Linked DNA regions of Homo sapiens: region 1 is linked to region 2. Evidence: promoter capture Hi-C in human tissues and cell types (Jung and others, 2019). All regions are on one chromosome and are shown on one strand. The core of a region is centred on a gene start or on the middle of the fragment in contact, and the rest is flanking DNA. Distances in the headings are between cores, read along the strand shown. Region 1 overlaps LIPE-AS1 (LIPE antisense RNA 1). Region 2 holds the start of ETHE1 (ETHE1 persulfide dioxygenase).

Evidence for each region. The method cuts DNA at HindIII sites, captures the fragments that hold promoters and counts their contacts. A contact is called where the count stands out against the background at its distance.
Region 1: a fragment that was not itself captured here is called in contact with the fragment with the promoter of ETHE1 in region 2 in 1 of the 25 tissues and cell types used here (dorsolateral prefrontal cortex).

The regions. Positions count from the first base shown.
Region 1 is chr19:42,454,975-42,459,694 of GRCh38, reverse strand. The region is part of intron 1 of LIPE-AS1 (LIPE antisense RNA 1); the gene reads right to left. Among named protein-coding and RNA genes, the nearest start is that of CXCL17, 14 kb to the right of the region's middle. The HindIII fragment of the contact is 7,822 bases long and covers 1-4,720 here.
Region 2 is chr19:43,525,951-43,531,203 of GRCh38, reverse strand. It overlaps ETHE1 (ETHE1 persulfide dioxygenase), which reads left to right and starts at 4,003. Exons shown (of 7, transcript NM_014297.5): 1 at 4,003-4,107; 2 at 4,545-4,689; 3 at 4,855-5,003. The coding sequence starts at 4,027. It also overlaps a transcript of ZNF575 not described here. RefSeq lists silencers at 1-49, 3,852-4,041 and enhancers at 4,652-4,831, 4,347-4,851, 4,852-5,253. The HindIII fragment of the contact is 5,540 bases long and covers 44-5,253 here.

The DNA of each region.
Region 1 (4,720 bases), core at 1,267-3,766, 1.1 Mb after region 2:
GGGCTAAAATCAAGGCATTGGCGGTGTTCCTTCTGGAGGTTTCCTTCTGGAGGTTTAAGGAATGGATCCTCTTCTTTGCCCGACCCAGCTTCTCGATGCCACCTATATTCCTTTGCTTATGGCCCCCTTCCATCTTCAAAGCCAGCAGTGGCCAGTGGAGTCTTCCTCATGCTACATCATTTTCACCCTGACTCTCCTGCCTCCCTCTTTCACCTATAAGGATCCTTCTGATTATAATGTGCCCACTCAGATAATCCAGGATAATTCCCCCATCTCAAGATTCTTAACTTCATCTTATCTGCAAAGTCTTTCTGCCAAATAAAGTAAAATGCACAGGTCCCAGGGATTAGGATGTGGATATTTTCAGGAGGCCATTATTCTGCCTAATACAGGTACCTTTTATAAACTTCACCCACAACAAAAATTTGCCTTGCCTTCCTGCTGTGTCTCACTTTTCTGTCTGAATCATAGGCAAGAGCACAAACTTTGAGGTGAAACACACTAGCTCTGCTATGAACTGGCTGGATGATGCTGACCACTCACCTCGCCTCCCTCAGCTTCTTCTCATTTGCAGCACAAAGGTGACTCTTACTCCATCAGAGGATGACAATAAAAGAGTAAATTAAGATGTGTAAGGCATTGTTCAGGCGCAGTGGTTCACGCCTGTAATCCCAGCACTTTGGGAGTCCAAGGCAGGTGGATCACGAGCTCAGGAGTTCGAGATCAGCCTGACCAACATGGTGAAACCCCGTCTCTACTAAAAACACAAAAATTAGTTGGGTGTGGTGGTGCACGCCTGTAATCCCAGCTACTCAGGAGGCTGAGGCAGGAGAATCCCTTGAATCAGGGAGGTGGAGGTTGCAGTGAGCCAAGATCACGTCACTGCACTCCAGCCTGGGCAACAGAGCAAGACTCCATCTTAAAAAAAAAAAAAAAAAAAAAAACATGTGTAAGGCATTAGACACACAGCTTGGTACCTGGTGAGCCCTCGGTAAACATTTATTTCAGTCTTTTCCTTTCACCATCCCATCTCTCTCACCCTCACCCATCTTCTTGGTCTCCTTTCTTTTCAGTGATTTGCTCACTCTAAACTACCATTTAGAAAGCGGCCACACTATCCATTCTCTTGTGATTCTGCTGGAATGTTCTTGTGATGGAGTCTGCTATCTACTCAAGACAGTCCACATTATTTATATGGAGAGGTCTGTTTAAAACAAGAAGTCCTTTTTATGTTCACATACAATTTTTACATGCTTCCTCTTAACGTACACATACCAGTCCCAATTCTGCCCTGCTAATGCATATATATCCTTATTTCACTCTTCTTCAGTCTCTTTTTTGAGACAGAGTTTCGTTCTTGTCACCCAGGCTGCAGTGCAATGGCACGATCTCGGCTCACTGCAACCTCCGCCTCCTGGGTTCAAGTGATTTTCCTGCCTCAGCCTCCTGAGTAGCTGGAATTACAGGCACACACCACCACACCCAGCTAATTTTTGTATTTTTTAGTAGAGATGGAGTTTCGCCATATTGGCCAGGCTGGTCTCGAACTCCTGACCTCAGGCAATCCGCCCCCGCTTGGCCTCCCAAACTGCTGGGATTACAGGCGTGATCCACTGAGCCCAGCCCAGTCTTTCTCTTTACATCTTGTAAATAAGGATAGTACAGGCCGGGCGCGGTGGCTCATGCCTGTAATCCCAGCACTTTGGGAGGCCGAGGTGGGCAGATCACGAGGTCAGGAGATCGAGACCATCCTGGCTAACACAGTGAAACCCCGTCTCTACTAAAAGTACAAAAAAAATTAGCCAGGCATGGTGGCGGGCGCCTGTAGTCCCAGCTACTTGGGAGGCTGAGGCAGGAGAATGGTGTCAACCCGGGAGGTGGAACTTGCAGTGAGCTGAGATCCACCACTGCACTCCAGCCTGGGCAAAAGAGCAAGACTCCTTCTCAAAAAAAAAAAAAAAAAAAAAAAAAAAAGGATAGTACCAAGACAAAAATAATGACCTGGGCCACAAGAAGGGATTCTTTTAGCACGTAAATGCTTTCTTTTAACAAGATGAACATTTTCCTTTGGCAAGATGAATGCTAATTTGCAAGGCACCCCTGAAGCCTGTTTCTAGGCTTGGGTTTCACATTCCTAGACCCCAGGGACAATAATTGTGACAGAAGCCACACCCACTGTGCGTATTCCTGCTGTTGGGTAAAGGTATTTTCACAGAATGTTATGCATGAGTTACTCCTTCCCAATCCTTCCACTCCTGGAGGTTAAGCCTCCCCCTTCACCAGCTTCATCTCCAGCTGGCCTCCCAGGACTCTGACTGGAAAATACCTCCTCACTCTGGATGCCCCGGGTGACACCTTTGTCTATTCCCATAATTATAATAGCTCACACTGATGCAGCACTCACTATCCGCCAGGCACTATCCCAAGGGGTTTCCATGTAGCTCCAGTCCTCTCAAAGAATCCTGAGTGTCACCATCCCCATTTTTACAGATTAAAAAAACAGAGGCAGGGGCCAGGCATGGTGGCTCACGCCTGTAATCCCAGCACTTTGGGAGGCCGAGGCAGGCGGATCACGAGGTAAGGAGATCAAAACCATGCTGGCCAACACGGTGAAACCCCATCTCTACTAAAAATACAAAAAAAAATTAGCCGGGAGTGGTGGCGGGCGCCTGTAGTCCCAGCTACTCCGGAGGCTGAGGCAGGAGAATGGCATGAACCTGGGAGGCGGAGCGCGCAGTGAGCCAAGATCATGCCACTGCACTCCAGCCTGGGCGACACAGTGAGACTCCGTCTCAAAAAAAAAAAAAAAAAAAAAAAAACTGAAGCAGAGAAGTTTAGTAATGTACCAAGTGTCACTCAACTCCATAATTTAACCTCATCCTCCTCCCCATCTGGGCGAGGACACCCTAAGATTTCCAAGGTGTCCTGAATGACATCCACCTTTCAGAATGATTTTTGTCCCCTCTACTCTCAGGATTTGACAAACAGCCAGCATTTTGTTTTCTGTCTTACCCTTCACTTATGTACCTGTTCCCTAACACCACACTCACAACTGCACAGCCCGGAATAAAAGCTGGCTTTTATGGACCTCAATCTCTTTTGGCAAAAAGGAAGGCCAGGTTCCCAGTTCTCCCAAAAAGTAATTTTTTTTTTTTTTTGAGATGGAGTCTCGCTCTGTCGCCCAAGCTGGAGTGCAGTGGCACAGTCTTGGCTCACTGCAACCTCCGCCTCCCAGGTTCAAGCAATTCTCCTGCCTCAGCCTCCTGAGTAGCTGGGCTTACAGGTGCGTGCCACCACACCCAGCTAATTTTTGTATTTTTAGTAGAGATGGGGTTTCACCATGTTGGTCAGGCTGGTCTTCAACTCCTGACCTCGTGATCCGCCCTCCTCATCCTCCCAAGTGATGGAATTACAGGTGTGAGCCACCGTGCTCAGCTGTAACTTTTACTGAATTGTTAACTATTTGTACAGCCATTCTCTGGCCGTAAAAGGGATGCACTAGGAACAGATAGTGTGATGAGAAGGAAGCAGGAGGAGGGTGAGTCTCTGGAATGATCACAAAGGGGAAAAGATTTCAAATCCAGGAACAGTCATAAAACACACCCAGAGTGTGTGGCCTTTGAGCAATGACAGCCCCACCTGCCTCTTTCCATGCCTAGTGGCCTCTGACTTCCTTCTCAGTTGCCCCTCCCAGTCTTGCTTTCTTAGGCCAATACTAATGGCCTGGGAAGTGGGGCCAGACCATAGCACATAGCACTGAGTGGTGAGGATGGAGGAGCTGAAGACGGAGAAGAATGATTGACTCATGGGGATCTGACTCATCCAGGTACACATCATCTGGACAGGGAATGGATTAGTGAAGGGCTGTTCAGGACTCATGGTTTAAGGAGTTGTACTAGGGAGTGGTACTTCCTCACTGCTGTCTCACTGACAGCAACAGAGTGGGTGTGGAAGGCATCACAGCTTTTTCCTACTTAAAAACCCAGTTCCTCCTTCTCCCTCTTTTGGGTTACATTCCTCTGCCCTTAGGTCACTTATTTACTCAGTTGTGTTCCAAGGGGGAAAAAAAAAAATCTCAGTTGCATTTCTTAAAGTCCCAAGCATTCAGTTCCATTAAAGAGCATCTGTCATCTTAGTGATGACCAGGTGCAAATATTTTTAAAAGGCTCTTTAGGAAATTTTGATAAGAGCCTTCACACCACCCACAAACTTTCTGGGAACCACTGAGCTATTAAAGTGCTGAGGAAAGAATCTGCTATATGCTGTGCTGAGGACCTTTATGTTTGCATCTGATCTAATGGTCACAATGACCCTTTGATGCAGGTACTCTATTACCCCTCTATTCCAAGATGTTGATAAACTTGTCCCTTATCTCAGAACTGGTTAAAGGTGGAACTGTCAAAGGATTCAAACTCACATATTTCTGAATCTAAAGCTCGTGGTTCACTCCACATCACGGTACCTACCAGAATTCAAAGAAAGGAAGGATGATTGCTTCTAACAGGAATAACTATACAGGCTTCAATGAAGAGACAGGGTCTGAAATGGGCCATAGCACAAAGAACAGCTCAGGAGGCTGAACAGGAAGGCAAGGGTATTATATAGGAAGGAGTAAAAGAATTAGAATAAGCTCAGGCATGAGAAAGTAAAATGTAGGTTAAGTCCTTCCACGTAGATCAACGGAGTAGATTGAGGCCATGCTATGGGGGCTTTAAATGGT
Region 2 (5,253 bases), core at 2,754-5,253:
TTCTCCTGCTTCAACGTCCTGAGTAGCTGGGATTACAGGTGCCCGTCACCACGCCTGGCTAATTTTTTTTTTTTTTTTTGTATTTTTGGTAAAGATGGAGTTTCACCATGTTGGCCAGGCTGGTCTCAAACTCCTGACCTCAGGTGATCCGCCCACTTCGGCCTCCCATGGTGCTGGGATTTCAGGTGTGAGCCACCGCGCCCAACCTCTAGGGCCACAGCTATTTTCAAGAACCATGATTTTAAGAAGGCAGAGTAGAAGCCAGAAGACCAGTGAGGGTATTGTTATATATTAATTACAGTATTAATTGCTAGCACTTATTATACACTGGAAACTGTCCTTATGTGCATTAATTTATTTAATCCCCATAGCAATGTTTTAAGAGGAGGTGCTACTATCATCCTTGTACAGAGGAGGAAAATGAAGTGTGGAGGGGAAGGTCATCCCAGCCAGGAAGTATCAGAGCCAGGATTTGAATCCCTCAGCCTGGCCCTGCAGTCCAGGCAATTTGCATTTATGCTTTGCTGCCCCTTGAATGGGGCAGAGGGTGTGATAACAGAAAAGTGGCCTGGTTAAGATAGGTTAAATCTGGCTGGGCACGGTGGCTCGGCCCTGTAATCCCAGCACTTTGGGAGGCTGAGGCAGGTGGATTACTTGGGGTCAGGAGTTCCAGACCAGCCTGGCCAACATGGTGAAACCCCATCTTTACTAAAACTACAAAAATTAGCTGGGTGTGGTGGTGTGCACCTGTAATCCCAGCTACTTGGGAGGCTGGGGCAGAAGAATCTCTGGAACCCAGGAGGCGGAGGTTGCAGTGAGCTGAGATTGCACCACCGCACTCTAGCCTGGGCAACAGAGCAAGACTCCATCTCAAAAAAAAAAAAAAAAAAAAAGAGAGAGAGTTTAACTCAGCAGGGCCTGGAAGTGGGTGGAGGTGGCAAGGGTAGGAAGGAGTCAAGGATAGTGACAAAATAATGATGGGCAGTTCCCATTGAGAGCCTGTGCTATGTCAGGCTATTGAACTATTTTCAACCTCATTTTGTAGATAAGAAAACTGGAACCCAGAAGAAGATAAGTTTTCAGCCCAAGGTCCTACACCTGAGAAGGGTGAAGCCAAGTCTAACTCTTAGAACATCTCACAGCTGAGCCTATAAACCCTGCCTAGGGTGTGTCTTCAAAGGACACATAAATGGTCTAGAAATTCTGCAAAAACAACGGGAAAGGGTGCCAGGGGCGAGAAGTTCTTATTTGGGGGACCCTCTCAGTAAGGAGTGCCTGAGGGTCTTCCTTTCCCTGGCTCCTCCCTCCCCTGAGTTCCCCAAATCCCTACACCTCCCTGTGTCTCAGACCTGCTTTCCCTACCTCTCTCGCCTACCAGCCAGACTGAGTCACCTCTGGGTCCTCAGCTTTGTCTAGCTTGAGTCAGGCATGCATGAGACCTCATGCCTGGAATTTTTTTTTTTTTTGAGACGGAGTCTCGCTCTGTCGTCCAGGCTGGAGTGCAGTGGCACGATCCCGGCTCACTGCAAGCTCCGCCTCCCGGGTTCACGCCATTCTTCTGCCTCAGCCTCGAGAGTAGCTGGGACTACAGGCATCCGCCACCATGCCCGGCTAATTTTTTGTATTTTTTTTGAGTAGAGACGGGGTTTCACCGTGTTAGCCAGGATGGTCTCAATCTCCTGACCTCGTGATCCACCCGCCTTGGCCTCCCAAAGTGCTGGGATTACAGGCGTGAGCCACCGCACCTGGCCTTTTTTTTTTAGACACTCTCGCTCTGTTGCCCAGACAGGGTTTTGCTATGTTGCAGAGGTGCAATCTTGGATCACTGCAAACTCTGCAACCTCTGCCTCTTGGGTTCAAATGATTCTCATGCCTCAGCTTCCCAAGTAGCTGGGTCTACAGGCGTGCCCCACCACGCCCAGATAATTTTTTTGTATTTTATTTTATTTTTTTCAGTAGAGATGGGGTTTTACCATGTTGGCCAGGCTGTCTCAAACTCTTGACCTCAAGTGATCTGCCCACCTAGGCCTCCCAAAGTGCTCAAAGTGCCTGTGCATGAGCTCAGCCATATGCTTTTTTTTTTTTTTTTTTTTTTTTTTTGAGATGGAGTCTCCATCACCCAGGCTGGAATGCAGTGGCACGATCTCAGCTCACTGCAACCTCCACCTCCCGAGTTCAGGCAATTCTCCTGCCTCAGCCTCCTGAGTAGCTGGGATAACAGGTGTGCACCACCACACCCAGCTAATTTTTATATTTTTAGTAGAGATGGTGTTTCACCATGTTGGTCAGGCTGGTCTTGAACTCCTGACCTCGTGATCCGCCCGCCTCAGCCTCCCAAAGTGCTGGGATTACAGGCATGAGCCACCGCGCCCAGCCGGCCACATAAAATTTTAATGAAGCAATTTGATAGGCTTAAGGAAAAGCAGGCCTTCTCTGTGTAAAGGCATTCACACAGGGGCTGCTCTGAAAATAGCTCCAGGGACCATTCCCTGGAAACTCCAGAATTAAGATAAATGTTGTTGCAGGAAACCCCTCCTCAGAAGCTGTGGGACAGGATAACTCAGTGGTTCATACCTGTAATCCCAGCATTTTGGGAGGCCCAGGTGGGAGGACCATTTGAGGCCAGGAGCTGGAGACCAGCCTAGGCAACATAGCAAGACCCCTGTTTCTACAAAAAAAATTCTAACAATTAAAAAAAAAAAAAAAAGCTCTGCCCCTAGGCTGGAAATCAAGGCTGCTCTGATGTCACAAAGTGACATAGATCCTCCAGATGAGAGTGGGATGTCCTATTCTCACTACTGCTACGATTACAAAGAGCAGACTTTCTGACAGCTCATGACTTGAGACTACAGTTTTTCAGCCCCAGGTCCTTGGTGTAAATGAACACAAGCTCTTTTCAGAGGTTCACACCCCAACAGAAGATGAATAATCCCCAATCTGATTATTCAAGAGATAATGCAAAATTATCTTTTTTTTTTTTTTTAAGATTTCTTCCTGGAAAGAGAGAAACATTCCTGATAAAATGCTTATGCAATTTCTGGATGAACTTTAATGGGATCAAGTGTTGTTCTGGTAACCAGGCACCCACTCAAAAGTCCCTCAAGATATTAATGACCTGGAACCGAACGAATATCTTTTTTTTTTGAGACAGAGTCTCCCTCTGTCGCCCAGGCTGGAGTGCAGTGGCGTCATCTCTACTCACTGCAACCTCTGCCTCCCGGAACCGAACATCTTTTTCTAACCATGACTATCCTACCACCTGCTAGAAAACGGCCCCACGGGACGCGGTGGCTCACGTCTGTAATCCCAGCACTTTGGGAGGACAAGGTGGGAGGAACGCTTGAGCTCAGGAGTTCGAGATCAGCCTGGGCAACATAGTGAGAACTCCGTCTCTGCAAAAAACAAATTTTATATACATGTATGTGTGTGTGTGTGTGTATATATATATATGTATATAAATATATATATAGATATAAATATATATATATAAAATGTCGGGTGTGGTGGCAACGTGCCATAGTCCCAGCTACTCGGGAGGCTGAGGTTGGAGGATCGCTTGAACCCGGGAGTTTAAGGCTGTAGTAAGCTGAGATCGAGTCACTGCACTCAAGCCTGCGTGACAGAGCGAGACTCTGTCTCAAAATAAAACAAAAGAAAAAGGAAAAAAAACGGCCCCGAGGCTATGAGTGTACTGGGGCCTCTCCCTGGGTTTCTACTTCTCTCCCTATCTCTGTTCCTACATGAGTATGTCTGTGTGTCTCTGAGCGTCTGTCCCTCGCACTTTGAGTGTCTCCCTGTTCTCTGTTTTTTCTGGGTCTCAAAGCGTCCAGGCATTGCACTCTGGCTTTCCTCGGTCTCGCCCTCGCCCCAGTCCCGCTCGGCGGTCCCCCGCCCTCTGCCCCAGGCGTCCGTGGCCCCTTTAAGGCGTGCTCCGCCCCCGCCCCGCCCTTCCCGGGGTCAGTGCCGTAGCGCCCGGCTCCTGCAGGCGCTCGGCCTCCGCTCATTCCTGACCCCGCAGTGGGCGCGATGGCGGAGGCTGTACTGAGGGTCGCCCGGCGGCAGCTGAGCCAGCGCGGCGGGTCTGGAGCCCCCATCCTCCTGCGGCAGGTGCGGGTGGCTGGACCTAGGAGGGGACTGCTGGGCACTAGGCGGCAGCAAGGACGGAACTCCGGGGTCTCTTAATAGGGAGAGATCCGGGGGGACCCACGCCTGCATCTTGCGGAAAGCGGGGTGGAGGTTTAGGGCTGGACTCTTGGGTCCTTTAAAGGTGAGTGGTCTGGGGGCCTCTGGGCTTGGGGCCAGACCCCTGGGTCCTCTATGAAAGAACGTGCTGGGGACCCTGATTTTGGGATGTTAGGAAGTTGGAACTCTTTTGTTCTGATAGGGGAAGGTAGTGGGGCTCCGGACTCCCGACTCCCGGGGAAAGAGTGGGCTGGGGTTTCTGCTTCTGGATCTTAGGAAGAGGATAGGGTCAGTCTGGACTACTTGGCCTCCAGTGGGTGGAAGTCCGGTTCTGCGCCCTCACCTGGGTCCCCCGTTCCCAGATGTTCGAGCCTGTGAGCTGCACCTTCACGTACCTGCTGGGTGACAGAGAGTCCCGGGAGGCCGTTCTGATCGACCCAGTCCTGGAAACAGCGCCTCGGGATGCCCAGCTGATCAAGGAGCTGGGGCTGCGGCTGCTCTATGCTGGTCAGTCCGGGGACCAAACTCATGGATCCCAGCGGGGCTGGGCTGCAGCGTCAGTGGAATGGGAAGCTGGGGCCCAGAACTCCTGAGTCTGAGGGAGAAGGATCTGGGCTGGGACTCCCAGGTCCTTTCTGTACCCTCCGGACCTGTCCCTCCTCTCTCTCCCAGTGAATACCCACTGCCACGCGGACCACATTACAGGCTCGGGGCTGCTCCGTTCCCTCCTCCCTGGCTGCCAGTCTGTCATCTCCCGCCTTAGTGGGGCCCAGGCTGACTTACACATTGAGGATGGAGACTCCATCCGCTTCGGGCGCTTCGTGAGTTGGGTGCTGGGTCCCCAAGAGGGTGGTGGCCTGGACTTCTTAAACTTAAGGGAAGAGGGGACTGGGGGCCTGGGATCCTGAGTCCTTGGGGAGGAGGGACCTCAGGACCTGGGTTTCTGACCCCTGAGCTCATATTTCTGGGAGGGGGGCACCATAAACCCAGGTGGGGCACTGGGGCAAGAGGCTCTGGGCAGGTGGGGCACTGGCGGAACTCCTAAGTCAACAGCATTTAAGGAGTTTCCTT